Regions from separate parts of the Homo sapiens genome. Here regions 2 and 3 are each linked to region 1. Evidence: promoter capture Hi-C in human tissues and cell types (Jung and others, 2019). All regions are on one chromosome and are shown on one strand. The core of a region is centred on a gene start or on the middle of the fragment in contact, and the rest is flanking DNA. Distances in the headings are between cores, read along the strand shown. Region 1 holds the start of LEAP2 (liver enriched antimicrobial peptide 2). Region 2 overlaps AFF4 (ALF transcription elongation factor 4). Region 3 overlaps SEPTIN8 (septin 8).

Region 1 (4,459 bases), core at 275-2,774:
CTTAAATCTCTTTTGGTGCTTTTGGTGGCTTGGGCTTTCATTGCTTTATTAAACTAGATTTTTCTCTCTGTTCTGCCTTATCTTCAGACAGCCATAGACAAACCTGGGTGCTTCATTAGATGGCAAGTGCTTGACCATCTTTTTTTTTTTTTTTTTTTTTTGAGACAGAGTCTCTCTATGTCACCCAGGCTGGGGTGCAGTGGCATGATCTTGGCTCACTGCAACCTCCACCTCCCAGGTTCAAGTGATTCTCCTGCCTCAGCCTCCCAAGCTTGACCACCTTTGACACCTCCCTGAAGAGTATGGAGTGAAGGGATCCAGGGCCACAGCTTAGGAACTTGCTGAAGTTGATTACGTAGCTATTGATTATGTAGCTCTCACTACACTTTCCAGATTGAGAAGTTAACACATTATTGGGCAATGCTGTTTTTTTCTTTAGTATACAAAATGAATCCTTCTTTCCCTCAAAAGCTTGAATTCCAGACTGCTAAAATTTCAATTTGAGACATTTAATAGTATCCATAGAAAAATAAACTCTAAATTGACAAGTTTAGTTATGCTTATCCATATATCAACATTCTAAGAAGAAATGGAGACCAATTTAAAGCGTACATCTGCCTTTAAATATTAAAAATACAAGATTGCTTCACTTGGGTGTCTCCAGCCAAAATGCAGTTAATCAATATTCCATAGAACGGAGCATTGTCGGAGGTGACTGCTGTCCTTTCTTTCCCTGGTATGTACATCATTCCTGGGCCACACTTAAGGAACAGCGTCTTTTTCTAGGGGAAAAGAAAGGGTAGTTTTTTAAGACTGGGTCTAGGAATGACCAGGGCCACCTATGCTGCATTTCCTTCCTCTTTGCTTGATCTGTCCAGTCTCAGGAAAGACTGAAGAATGGAAAGGCACCACTCTTTCATGGTACCCACATAGAGCTGTTCTTGGCTCCTAACTCCTAAGGGATTTTCCATGGAGCTCCCAGTCTCAGTCTAGAACTCCTCCATCCCAGCTTTATTCTTAGGTTCATGTGTCCCCTTGTCACTCCTCTGCCCAGCTTCCCAGGGCTCTCTGGCCCAACCCTGCTCCCAGGTTCAGGGAGTACCTGCATAGCCTTGTGATACACTCAGAATCATCCCGGCAGGAGGCTCCAATAGGCCTGAGGGAAACCCCTCTCCAAAATGGGGTCATTCTCCGTGGCCTTCTCTTTGCCGAACTCACTTCTGGTATTGGGGAGCCATCTATCTGTAAGGGCAAAGACATTCAGATATGAAAGTGTTGACACCCTGCTGCACACCTTGGAAGAGTGATCATTCCATTCCGCAGATGCTGTAGACTCAGAACAGAGGAACCATTCCTCAGGACTGAATCTAGCTTTCAAGTTCCACCACCACTATCATCTCCACACTCCACACACACACATAAGTATCCTTCCCTCCTTACCTGGCCCAACAGCAACAGGAAGATCATGAGGACTGCACAAAGTTTGAGGTGCCACATCTTGACAGGGGGAGGATGTTGGAGCCTGAAAGCCAGGGACAGTTCCTACTTCCTTTTATAGACTGACATCAACTCTTGCATTGTTACTGGGTGAGATGGGGGCAAAGTTTATATTTGTAATCAGAATCAATTTAATAAGTTAATGTCTACCGGAGGAATGTGCTCAAGGGCCACCTTTCAGGCACGTTGTATTTACTGATCCCTCATCTGGACTTTGAGTGATTGTGTTGCTGGCATGGACCCTTTCGCCCATTTTACCAAAAGTCAGCACTGCCCTTCCTTCCCTTTGAAAGCCACGTGAAACCATTGAGGGAGGTCAGGCAACTAGCCACATTTCTATTCCAAAATAGCTCAGTGAGATCACTCCCATAGAATTCCAATAATGAAGTCTTCAGAAATAATGTTGGCCCCTTTCAGCCTTGTCTAGGAAAGAAGCACTGATCTATTGTGTACAGCCAATTGGATAAGGCCCTTATCTCCTTTCTGTGGGAGGATGCTTCAGCAAGGCCTACAGTTCCCCAGATCGTCCACTTGCTTAGATGGACTGTCACCCTAATCTGCACCTCTTTATCTCACTAGTAAAATGAAGACCCAGCTGTGGAAAGTTCAAAGTCTGGCCTCCTGCCCTCTCAGGGGAATGGCTGGATGTGAGACTTATTTGGACCACAGGTGAATTGAATAATTATAGGTTTCTTTTTGTTTTTAAGCACATGTAGATGAGGAGGTAACAAGATCTCCTAAATCAGAGGGAGAGCTTGTGTAGTGACTGTATTAAAAGCCTTGAATTATGGGCTTTCTTCCCAGTAGTTGAGTGGGGCCTTTCCTTCCGGCAGCTTCAGGGCAACAGGCATAGGGATGAGATACCTCCAAAGCCCAAAGCATCCATCAGTTTAAGTAGGAACTGCTGCAGATTTCTAGACCAAGGGAGGACATGTATCTAAACGATGGGTAGTTATGGGTACTCGTGAAATGACATGGGCATTTTAAGTTTGAGGGGAAAGCTGTGAATTCTGAGTAAGGAGACTGATTGGACTTTAGATCTTCCTATGACCTGGGAGGATAATAAGCTTAAGACAAAGACAACAAATTCTTTCTGCCGGGCATCATACTGAAAACTTGGCTAATACCTCTTCCCAAGGGCCGTCTCATCTTCACAGGTTGGGTATTTGGATAAGAACCTGCTTGTTCCTTTACTCCAGGAAAACGTGGAGGAGATGCACAACAGCTGAAGGTAGAAAAGGATGGCCACTGACCCTGCTGCCAGTCAGACAGAGGGAGCTTCTTGCCAAGGGAGAAGCAGATGGTTTGATGGACCTCAGAGCTGGAATTGGGCAGGATGTGACCACAGATCTGACTGTCCTGATTCTAGTCCTCTCAGAATCATGGAGCCAGGCCTTGAGGGGGATGCCACTGCATGCACTTTAGGAACATTGAGAAGAGACCTATATACCAACGAACCAGTTGAGACTAGTTCTCTGCTCCCTCCCTTCACCCCTAAGCTTGGATACTGGATGATCCCAGACAGGTGCCTAAACTGGGAACTTTTGCTGGGAGGGGAAGTGGCTATGTGGGTGACCTAGTGAGCACTGGGTAAGAACACAAATGATTAGATAAGCAAAGGACTGAACAACGTGATGTCCTAGAGCCAGTTGGGTCTGTGGCCTCAGTGTCAGCCTCCCCTTTACCAGTCTAGAGTGATGTGCCAAATGGGATTTGGAAACTGTTCATCCAAAAGATGAGTAATTCTCCTAATCCTCCATTTCTGCCTTCCTGTACTTCTAGCAGGATCAAACTAGCATGGTGTTAATTTGTAAAGCTGATAACACAGTCAAGGAAAGAAAGAGCTTGAAGCCCTTGCCCCTCTGTGTGTAGGCGGAAAGGACCATTCATCCTCATGAGTGTGACAACATTGCAGAGGCCTTTGGTTCAAGCCTCTATGTTGTATGCCACCCTCTCCCCAAAAGAAAAAACCATTAGTCACTGTCTGTGGAAGGAACCACTGTTGGGGAAGGGGAAAGTATTTTAACATGTCTACGTGAATGCTAGTTGTTTTAGTTAAGTATGGAGCAAAAATCAAACTCAAAGCAACATCCAGGCAGCAGTTAGCTGAATTGGCAGTATTTGTCCACAGCCATCCCATACTTGAGAGACTGTGAAGGCCTCTTCTTGAAATTAAAAAAAAAAAAATTTCATGGATTCTACAATCAAGTATTTTGCTCAGTGAATATACACGTAACTGCATGCTCCTTCATCCAATAGAAAGGCCTAAGTAGCCTTTAACAGTTGCAGCCGTAAGAAGGTAGAATGCTTGGCTGGTAAGCAGTAGCCTGGGGTCTACAGAGTGCAACTGCCCATAGGCCAGCCCTTCCCCTTTTTGGGCTTTAGTCTCCTATTCTGTCAGTTTGGGGGTTCAAATGACTAATTTACAAGAAGAAAATGAGACTGAAGCAGATTTGATAGCTGAGAGCTTGGTAACTCTGGATACAACTCTCAAGAGATTTTATGCTTCTGAGGCAAATGCTTAGGATGAAATGGGAGAAAGAGGGTATAGCTACATGAGCAGCTGTTTGAAACACATTCCAGGTCGATCACTAGGAGTTGGCAGTAATTGGAAACTTTTTGCTGTCCCTAAGCAGGAGGTGCCTAATAAAAGATGAAAGACTCTGAAATGGAAAAACTTTACCAGGTAAAATTTCAACAAAAGGTCAAGGTGTATTTGCTTTTTTGCTAGCTGGAACTGGCATAGACTTTTGGGCCTACCTTAGGCCTGCATTTTGAGGACTGCCTGCAAACTAAAAGAGCAAGGGCATTCCTTTCATCAGACTCTGCAGCCCATAGATAAAAACGCTTGTGGGGGCAGGAGCATTTGGAAAAAGAAAGGTCAAATGGAGCAAATGGTTGTGCCAGAGTAGCAGGTAAGGGATCCATACCCAGGACTGGAGGCTCCAGATGGGTTACCAGC
Region 2 (4,912 bases), core at 2,111-4,610, 65 kb before region 1:
GATCTCGTCTCACTGCAACCTCTGCCTCCTGGGTTCAAGCGATTCTCCTGCCTCAGCCTCCTAAGTAGCTGGGATTAAGGCATGTGCCACCATGCCCTGTCAATTTTTGTATTTTTAGTAGAGGAGGGGATTCCCCGTGTTGGCCAGGCTCATCTCAAATGCCTGACCTCAGGTAATCTGCCCTCGTTGGCCTCCTAAAGTGCTGGGATTGCAGGCGTGAGCCACCGCGCCTGGCCAATTGCTTGCTTGTGCGTGCGAAAAAAAACCCCACACATCTGGTGTTAGAAGGATGTTGTGAGAGTATTGTGTGAGAAACTGAGTTTGTTGGCTGGGCACTGTGGCTCACACCTGTAATCCCAGCACATTTGGAGGCCAAGGTGAGCAGATCTCTTGAGATCGGGAGTTGGAGACCAGCCTGGGCAACATTGCGAAACCCTGTCCCTACAAAAATACAAAAAAAGTTAGCCAGGTGTGGTGGTGTGTGCCTGTAATTCCAGTTATTTGGGAGGCTGAGGCATGAGAATCATTTGAACCTCGGAGTCTGAGGTTGCAGTGAGCTGAGATTGTGCCACTGCTTTCCAGCCTGGGAGATAGAGTGAGACACTGTCTCAAAAAAAATAAAAAAGAAAAGAAAAGAAACTGAGCTTGTTTATTCCTGTATTCTCATAGCTATAAAATAGTTTTGCCCGTTTGACAAAGATATACTTCAGATTGACTCATTTAAATTTCATGTTAACGTTGGAGGAGTTGAAATTACTGGAATTATTGCTTTTGGAGAAAACTTATTTCATCTTAGCCAGAGATAGTGATGGTAAGAGACACAGGAGGCAAAAAAAATCGAACCAATATATTTGATACAAAAAGATCAGAAAAAAATAGAGAATAAGCACTATAACTGGTATATTAATTTTTTCTTTTCTTTCTTTTTTTTTTTTGAGATGTAGTTTCGTTTTGTCACCCAGGCTGGAGTTCAGTGATGCAATCTCAGCTCACTGCAACCTCCGCCTCCTGAGTTCAAGCTTTTCTCCTGCATCAGCCTCCTGAGTAGCTGGGATTACAGGCACCTGCCACCATGCCTGGCTAATTTTTGTATTTTTGGTGGAGATGGGGTTTCACCGTGTTGGCCAGGCTGGTCTTGAATTCTTGACCTCAGGTCATCCGCCTGCCTCGGCCTCCCAAAGTGCTGGGATTACAGGAGTGAGCCACAGCACCCGACCTAATTATTACAGTGAGTTAATTTAGTTCTTAGCTTCCTGGTAGCCTTATAAGTGTTCACTTGTGTGACTTTGATTGTTTAAAAAACCAGTTTCTTTGACATTGAATTACAGAAAGAATTTTATTATAGGAATCACCTATTTTTACAAGAGATATAGAAATACTTCTTGAATGATTATTTCAGTGCTGCTCAATCTATAAAATAAAATCATACTTTATTTTTTGTTTTTATTTTTATTTTTTTTTGAGACGGAGTCTCCCTCTGTCGCCCAGGCTGGAGTGCAGTGGTGCGATCTCGACTCACTGCAAGCTCCGCCTCCCGGGTTCACGCCATTCTCCTGCCTCAGCCTCCCGAGTAGCTGGGACTTCAGGCGCCCACCGCCACGCCCGGATAATTTCTTTTTATATTTTTAGTAGAGATGGGGTTTCACTGTGTTAGCCAGGATATCTCAATCTCCTGACCTTGTGATCTGCCCGCCTCCGCCACCCAAATTGCTAGGATTACAGGCGTGAGCCACCGCACCCGGCCTTTATTTTTATTTTTTTGAGATGGAGTCTTGCTCTTGTCACCCAGGCTGGAGTCCAGTGGTGCGATCTTGACTCACTGCAACCTCCGCCTCCCAGGTTCATGCAGTTCTCCTGCCTCAGCCTCCTGAGTAGCTGGGATTATAGGCACCTGCTACCACGGCAGGCTACTTTTTTGTATTTTGTAGTAGAGATGGGGTTTCACTGCATTGGCCAGGCTGGTCTTGAACTCCTTACCTCCAGTGATCCGCCCGCCTTGGCCTCTCAAAGTGCTGGGATTACAGTTGTAAGCCACCGCTCCTGGCCTTAAGCCAAAGTTCAGGCTCATGCCTGTAATCCCAGCACTTTGAGAGGCCAAGGCAGGCAGATCACCTGATGTCTGGAGTTTGAGACCAGGAGTTTGGCCAACTCGGTGAAACCCCATCGCTACTAAAAATACAAAAATTAGCCGGGCGTGGTGGCAGGTGCCTGTAATCCCAGCTACTCAGGAGGCTGAGGCAGGAGAATCAATTGAACCTGGGTGGTGGAGGTTGCAGTGAGCCGAGATCGTGCCATCGCACTTCAACCTGGGGGACAAGAGCGAGACTTCGTCTCAAAAAAAAGAAAAAAGAAGTTGCAGATCTTTCAGGATTTAAATTTAAGGAAACTGGTAGTTAACATATTCCTTAGTCTCTCAGGTATAAATAACTTTGTATGTTGGCAGAACCATAGCCCAAGAGGCCTATTTGAAGCCTGGTTGTTAGTGATATAAAACTATTACTTGGTTCAAATGTGATGGAGTATAATATGTTCTTTGGTTTTGTTTTATGAATACTTAAGTTTTGTGGTATTCTTTAAAGATTGAAATAGAGTTCTATAGAGTGCTAAGTATTAGCGAAACCAAAGAAATCCTGTTTAAGCTTATTAGAAAATTGTATACATTAAGCTTATTAGAAAATTGTATACATACAAAACAATTTGAAAACATATCTGAAACACTTAGAACATTCTTTTTTTTTTTTTTTTGAGAAAGGGTCTCGTTCTGTCTCCCAGGCTGGAGATCAGTGGCACAATCATGGCTCACTGCAACCTCTGCCTCCTGGATTCAAGTGATTCTCTTGCTTGAGCCTCCCGAGAAGCTATTACAGGTGTCCACCACCACACCTGGCTAAATTTTATTTTTAGTAGAGATGCAGTTTTGTCATGTTGGCTAGGCAGGTCAAGCGATCCTCCCACCTCGGGTCCCTTTTTTTTTTTTTTTTCTAAACATTAAATTGCCTTTTTTTTTTTTTTTTTTTTTTGAGATGAGTCTCTCTCTGTCGCCCAGGCTGGAGTGCAGTGGTGCCATCTCAGCTCACTGCAATCTCTGCCTCCCGGGTTCACGCCATTCTCCTGCCTCAGCCTCCTGAGTAGCCGGGACTACAGGCGCCTGCCACTGCACCTGGCTAATTTTTTGTATTTTTAGTAGAGACGGGGTTTCACCGTGTTAGCCAGGATGGTCTCGATCTCCTGACCTTGTGATCTGCCCACCTCGGCCTCCCAAAGTGCTGGGTTTACAGGCGTGAGCCGCTCAGGCCGTTAAATTGCTTTTATTGCATGACACTTAGTATGCAAATCAGGAGGTTTTAATTTTAAATGTTTGCTTTCACTAGTTCTAACCACTGATTAAAGTCCTCAAAAGTACTTGGTTGCTCTCATGCCTGTAATCCCAGCACTTTGGGAGGCCAAGGTGGGAGGATCACTTGAGGTCAGGAGTCCAGCCTGGCCTGGCCAACATGGTGAAATCCTGTCTCTACTAAAAATAAAAAAATTAGCCAGCCATTGGCATGCACCTGTAATCCCAGCTACTCAGGAGGCTGAGGTAGGAGAATCGCTTGAACCCGGGAGGCATAGGTTGTGGTGAGCTGGGAGATCGCACCACCGCACTCCAGCCTGGATGATAGAGCAAGACTCTGTTTCAAAAAAAAAAAAAAGAGTATAATACTGCTTTGTTACTAATTCTAATTTTATAATTATAGTTTCTGATGAACTTTAATTTTCTGATTTGATTTATGAATTATAGGCCAGAAATGCTCCACACATATAACCTGATTGTTTCTTTCTGGGCTCCAGTGAGCCTTTTTTTTTAAAAAAAAAAACAAAACCAGGTCTGATTATTTAATCTGTCTCCAGGGAAGAGTGTTGCAGATTCCCTGGTAATCCCTAGTGCCAGAGTTTGCCAGCCTTTACTACCATTGTCTGTTTAATCAAAATCCTTGCTGCTATAAATTGGCTGTATTTCTCTTGGTTTGTTCTAGTGAAAATAAGACAAACTGTCCTGATTATAGAGATGGGACTTCCATTTTCCCCTCACTCCAAAGACTTCCTTTTTCAATACAAGTTTAGTTGCTGTTACTAATCCAAGTTAATTTTTGATTCTATCACTGAAAACCTGGGTTTTGCCATTTATTGAGGTGTTAATTGAAATATTAATATATTTAGAGCAGAAATGTCGTTTTTTAGGGAATCTAGAGCAACAGCAAAGCTGAGGTCAAACTACCGTAAGGATGGACACCAAGGAAGCTGTGTTTGGGACAAAAAGAAATCAAGATAAGGTAGATGCAAAGTAGAGAAAAGAACTGGACCCTGGGGGGAAGGGTGGTAGTTGGGAGTGGGTTATATGCTTCTAAGGGCAAAGAATAGGCAGATTTCTGAAGAGGAGGGCCCAAAAGGAAATACTGAGGATTTGTGTTCAAATACTACGTTCCCTCTGAATGTACAAGTTTTTGCTTTTAGCTAACAGAGTACTTCAAACATTGATAAGGTTAAGTGTTTTGTTGGGGTGGGTTCTAATATTCTGGGCTAGTGTTTCCTTGGAATAGTTGTGGAAGACACTATTGGTATTTGTTGATAAAACCATTACCAAAACCCAGCTTCAGCACTAATGCCTGTTATTACTTGGAGGTCAAAAGGGAATCTGTGATTGAAGTGTTAAGCTGACAAAATCTGTACAGAATATTTAATTTTTCCTTTTATTTCTGTGATACAAAGATTGTGTTTCTTTTCATAGCAACATGAACCGTGAAGACCGGAATGTGCTGCGTATGAAAGAACGGGAAAGGCGGAATCAGGAAATTCAGCAGGGCGAAGACGCCTTCCCACCTAGCTCTCCTCTCTTTGCAGAGCCATACAAAGTTGTAAGTTGCCCTTCTGT
Region 3 (4,998 bases), core at 1,196-3,695, 100 kb after region 1:
AACTACCACGAATGTCTCTGTGGCTCAAGTCCAGCTACCAGAGGCGAGCAGCTGCAGGATGGTAGAGCAAAGGGCCTGAGGGCCAGCTGGCCTCTGTGTGTCCCTTGCAGCCTCCCCAGCCTTCCTGCCTCTGTGCTGCCAGCTTGGGTTTCAGGATCCCCAGGCATGGCCCCCAAGGCAAAAGCTTTGCCAGATAACCAGATGCAGAGCTATGCATGCAGGAGGGAGACACATCTGCCTGGGGAGGAGACGCCCTCCCAAGGTCTCCATGCCCTTGTGGTAGAGCTGGGGCACTCTGTTGGCTTCTTTTGGAGCCATCTGAACCTTCAGAGCTCCTGAAAGAACTGGCTGGGAAGAGGCAGCGGAGGACGGGGCAGGGGGCATCTTGGCTCTGCGTGCAGTTGCCCTACATGTTCTTGGGGCAAATTAGATATTCTCCTCAGGATACACGGCTTTCAGGTGTTCCCTATCCTAGAGGTCAGATTAGAGGGACAGAACCAGCAGAGGAAGGTACAGGGGCCCATGTCTGCTGGCAGGTGGCTGGCTGTTTTCTGAGGGGGCTCCAGGGCTTGGGCTGCCTGATGCTTGGGGTTCAGGAGGGGCTGTGGGTATGGACCCAAGCCCACTTGCCAGACATGGCTCTTGGGCCTGGGTACAAACCTGACATTCTGCCTGGTGTTGGAGTGAATGGACAAGCAGCAGAGAAGTATAGCAGTGCCACCCCCATACCTCTGCCAACCCGTATTGGTGCCCATGCATTCCTCCGTCCCTTTCCAGCACTGGCATCCATCGTGGGGTTGGACAGAAGGCGGGGCACCTTTGCTGCCCACATTCTCCCTCCAAGGGTTTCATTTGCTGTGAAACAGAGGCTGCCTTCTCCTGCCAGTGATACCCAGACCACTCGTGGCTTTCCCTGTTACAAGGCAGTGGTGGCTGCCACTGGAGTCCCTGAGCTAAGTAAGAAAATATGAATGCCTGGAGTTCTAGTACATTCTGCAGCCCAGAGCACCTTCCCCATCTCCTCTGTGGTGGGATAGACCACTCCCTCTCAGGCAGCACAATAAAGGCCAAGAATGTGTCTGTCCTAGGCCTGGGGGTTGGGGTGGCGAGTACTGGCCCAGCTACCAGTAACTGTGCTCTTAGCTTCCTGGAAATCTGATTTTGATGGGAAAAGCTTGAAACACACTATCCCAAATTAATAAGCTCCAGCCTGGCTGGCTGTGTGCAGAAAGGAAAGACAGTGCCTCTTAGTGAGACAGAGAAACAGAGAGAATGGAGTATTGGGGTCAGGGGATGGTTTTGCTCCCAAAATTCCTTCTCTTCCCAGGATGGGTGGAGTAGGACTGGCCTTGTGAGGATGATTGGCTTCCTGTTACCTTGACTGCCGTCATGTTGGGACCATGGCGGGTGATCCTTGCTTGAATCTTCTCTCAAGTTTTCTGTTGCCACTGTAGGAGAAAGATGCTTTGGCTCCCAGGTGTCCTCTTGATTTGGGACAGGTATATCCTGCCTCTATTCTTCCTTCCTGGCCCCGGGTAGCAGCATCCCACCCCCACCCTCCCACGTATGTCTCCTTGGTTATTTCCCGTAACCTCTGACCTGGGCTTAGAGGCTTGCTGTGGAATCCTGGGACCAGAGCCGAAGCCTTTCCTGGGAAAATTCCTAGGATTCCTCTCAGGCTCAAGGACAGTTGTGCTTATGACCGCGACCACGGGTTCTGGCTAGAGGCCTCTGCTCTGGCTATTTAAGGCCCAGGCTCCTGGGAGGAGCTGGAGCCGGGGCTAGCATAGTTTGTGCCAGGAACATGGGTGGAGAAAGCTTCCAGTGGTCCATTGACTCCTGAGTCCATTGCTCAGTTACTTAATAGGGCCACCCCCAGGGCTGGAGCTCCCCTGGGGAGTGGGCTTCCTGTCTGCCTGACTGGGTGTACAGGTGAGTGGGTGCTAGGCATGGGAGCCCAGAGGAAGAAAAGCATCCAAAGTCCAAGGCACTGGAGAACTCTGGAAGGCCTGAGGTCTGGGGGCTGCTCTTTGTCCATTACTCGGTAGCCAATCCACCTATGGTGGGGTATCCTTTCTACTCCCACTGCAACAACCAGCCTAGTTTGGGGGTTTGGATCACAGGGGTCTTTATTTACCCACAGCTTCCCCGGCTCTGTTGGTTTAGAGATTCAGTAGATTTCCAGTTCCTTCTGGATAAAAACCTGTTTTTGTGTGTTGGCAACCATGAGATGCAGTTTCTTCCCAGATCCCACCTTGTTTCATGGTAAAAGGGACAGCTCCTCTTGGCTGGTGATGAGGGCTGCTCTAGGAGGCTCAGACAGAGCATTTCCTATCAGGAAAAGGGCGTCCTAGTTATCCACTGGGCTGCGTAACAAAATGCTGTTCTCTACTTTGTCTTGGACGGCCGGGCATGGAGGCACGCAGCCGGCCTGAGAAGTTATTGTTTTGGTTGTTGTCTTTGATGTGCCAAAGAAATGATGACACAGAAGCCTGGGGCCTGGCTCAGGAGCCAAAAGCTTGTTAGTGATTAGAGAGGGGATAATGGCCCCATGGAGTTTCTCATTGCATATGTAGAGCTCAGAGCTGCCAACTCCCTCTATCCTGGGACTTTGAAGACATATACAACGCTCACCCCTGTGTGAGCACCTCAGGGAGCTGGGTGTGTGGAATGAGCCAGAGGCTTTGGGTCCACCTCTCTCTGGGGTCCAAGTTAAGTTGTCCTGCCTGAAGGCTCCTCCCCACAGAGCAGTCTGCCATGGGGCTTCCTGACTTGAGAATGGAGCCTGGCTGCAGGGTCCGTCCAGCTCACCCTCCCACCAGAGCCAGCTTACAGACCAGCAGGCCTTTGGCCCACACCAGCCCCCTGACATGTTGTATTGGGCCCTCATGGTATTCTCAGTTTGTATTGGTTGTCAATCTTTAAAAATTACAGAATTTCACATAAAAATATAGATTTCTGGGCCAGGCATGGTGGCTCACACCTGTAATCCCAGCACTTTGGGAGGCCAACGCAGGTGGATCACCTGAGGTCAGGAGTTCAAGACCGACCTGGCCAACATAGTGAAACCCCGTCTCTACTAAAAATACAAAAATCAGCCAGGCGTGGTGGTTGCGTGCCTGTAATCCCAGCTACTGGGGAGTCTGAGGCATGAGAATTGCTTGTACCTAGGAGGCGGAGGTTACAGTGAGCTGAGATCACACCACTCCAGCCTGGGTGACAGAGCCAGACTGTGTCTCAAAAAATACATACATACATATATATACATATATACATATATATATATATATATATACACACACATACACATATATACATATATATATATATACATATATACATATATATATACATATATACATATATATATATATATACACACACACACACACACACACATATATATATATGTGTGTGTATATATATATATATATATATATATATATATATATATATATGTATATATAGAGAGAGATTTTTGGGTTCTCTTTAAAAACGGGAAGATTTGGCAACACTAGATCTGTGTTCCCACAGTTGGCTGGCGTTGTGGAACTGTGGCCACCATGGATTGAGCATAAGCACAGGCTCTCCAGTTCTCTGCCATTCCCACCTCTCCCCGGGAACCCCCACGCTTGGCCAAGTTAGTGGCTGTCTTTCATCCAGCAGGCGGGGAGTGATGTGACTAGAAGTGTGGGTTTCACAGTCATGTTGTCTCCATTCAGATCCTGGCTTTGCTCTCCTGAGCAGTGTGGTCTTGGGCAAATTACACACTCTCTTGATGCCTCTATTGTCTCATCTAGACAATGGGGAGGCTGCTACGGCCTATGTCATAGGGCTGATGTGTGGACTAAATTAGATTAAATTAGGGTTGCGCAAAGCAAGCATGCAATACATGTTAGTTATGTCTGTTGTTGTTGCCATTGTTATTAAGGTGCTGCTCCCCTTCACCTATATATGTTACCTGCCTGGCTTCTAAAGGCATTTGAGTTTAGGCTTAGCCCTCTGAGGTCAAGGATCTGATGTCCTCATCTTTTCACTGGCAGCCATCTCAGTTCCTGGCACACAGCAGACATGTCCAGTGCGTGTGTGTTGAGTGACTGAATGAATGAGTTGGAAGCCTGCTAAGAACAGGGGAGGCAATGTAGCAGAGTGGTTTGGGACAAGAGCTTGGTCTGTTCTCAGGTCCCTGCTCTGCCCTGGTTAGTTCCCTAGCTTCTGTGTGCTTCAGTTTCCTCCCCTGTAAAATGGGGATAATCATGGAGTCTGTCATCCACAGTGAGGAAGGACCAAGTGAGAGCCTGGGTGTAAATCACTTGGCTTAGTTCACACATGGTGGTCCTCAGTGAGGTGTTGGTATCATCCCAGACGTCCCTTCCTTCCTTTGGTTGTGAATACTGAGATGTTTTACCTTCCACACTGTCCCTCCTTTCCTGGCTCTCCTCGCTTTCTCCCTGTTCCTCTGCATCCAAAGAGTTTTACTTTGGATCCTATGGCACCGAAGATGTTTCAGTTGCAAGTAATAGATAATACCACTCAACTAGCCTCAGCAATAAAGAGGATATGGCCAGGGGGAAGGGGAAAAGCCCAGAGATAGGGCAGACTCTGGCTCCCTCTTTTCTCTGTGATTTTCTTGGCTCTGCCATCCTGTGAGTAGACTGCAGCCTTAGGCTAGCTCCCCTAATGGTCTCAAGATGGTCATAAAGGCTCAACCTGCGTCACTTGCCTGTACTTGCACCGATCATGGCATCACGCTGATGGGCTCCCACCCTGGGAGTTGGAGCTGTGGTCTCACCCACCAAATTGCAGGGCTGGTAGCCACTGGGTCACCTGACTTTATTTCTGAGTCATGGTAGCTGAGATGTGCAGGAGGTCCTTCAGGGGCTGCTGGTTCCTCCTAGGTTGTAACCCCACTCAGGTTGGTAGAGATGCCTGGAGCAGGCACCCTGGAGTGAGCAATGCAACTTAGATCACATGTCGATGCCAAATCTATGATCAGGG

The links. The method cuts DNA at HindIII sites, captures the fragments that hold promoters and counts their contacts. A contact is called where the count stands out against the background at its distance.
Region 2: a fragment that was not itself captured here is called in contact with the fragment with the promoter of LEAP2 in region 1 in 2 of the 25 tissues and cell types used here (mesendoderm cells and thymus).
Region 3: a contact is called between a fragment that was not itself captured here and the fragment with the promoter of LEAP2 in region 1, in 3 of the 25 tissues and cell types used here (dorsolateral prefrontal cortex, mesenchymal stem cells and pancreas).

Annotation. Positions count from the first base shown.
Region 1 is chr5:132,870,733-132,875,191 of GRCh38, reverse strand. It overlaps LEAP2 (liver enriched antimicrobial peptide 2), which reads right to left and starts at 1,524. Exons shown (of 3, transcript NM_052971.3): 1 at 1,441-1,524; 2 at 1,103-1,242; 3 at 146-782. The coding sequence starts at 1,497. The coding sequence ends at 746. The HindIII fragment of the contact is 2,304 bases long and covers 1,519-3,822 here.
Region 2 is chr5:132,937,050-132,941,961 of GRCh38, reverse strand. It overlaps AFF4 (ALF transcription elongation factor 4), which reads left to right. Exons shown (of 21, transcript NM_014423.4): 2 at 4,769-4,895. The coding sequence starts at 4,773. Among named protein-coding and RNA genes, the nearest start is that of AFF4, 24 kb to the left of the region's middle. The HindIII fragment of the contact is 3,062 bases long and covers 1,830-4,891 here.
Region 3 is chr5:132,768,443-132,773,440 of GRCh38, reverse strand. The region is part of intron 1 of SEPTIN8 (septin 8); the gene reads left to right. Among named protein-coding and RNA genes, the nearest start is that of SEPTIN8, 6.3 kb to the left of the region's middle. The HindIII fragment of the contact is 3,532 bases long and covers 680-4,211 here.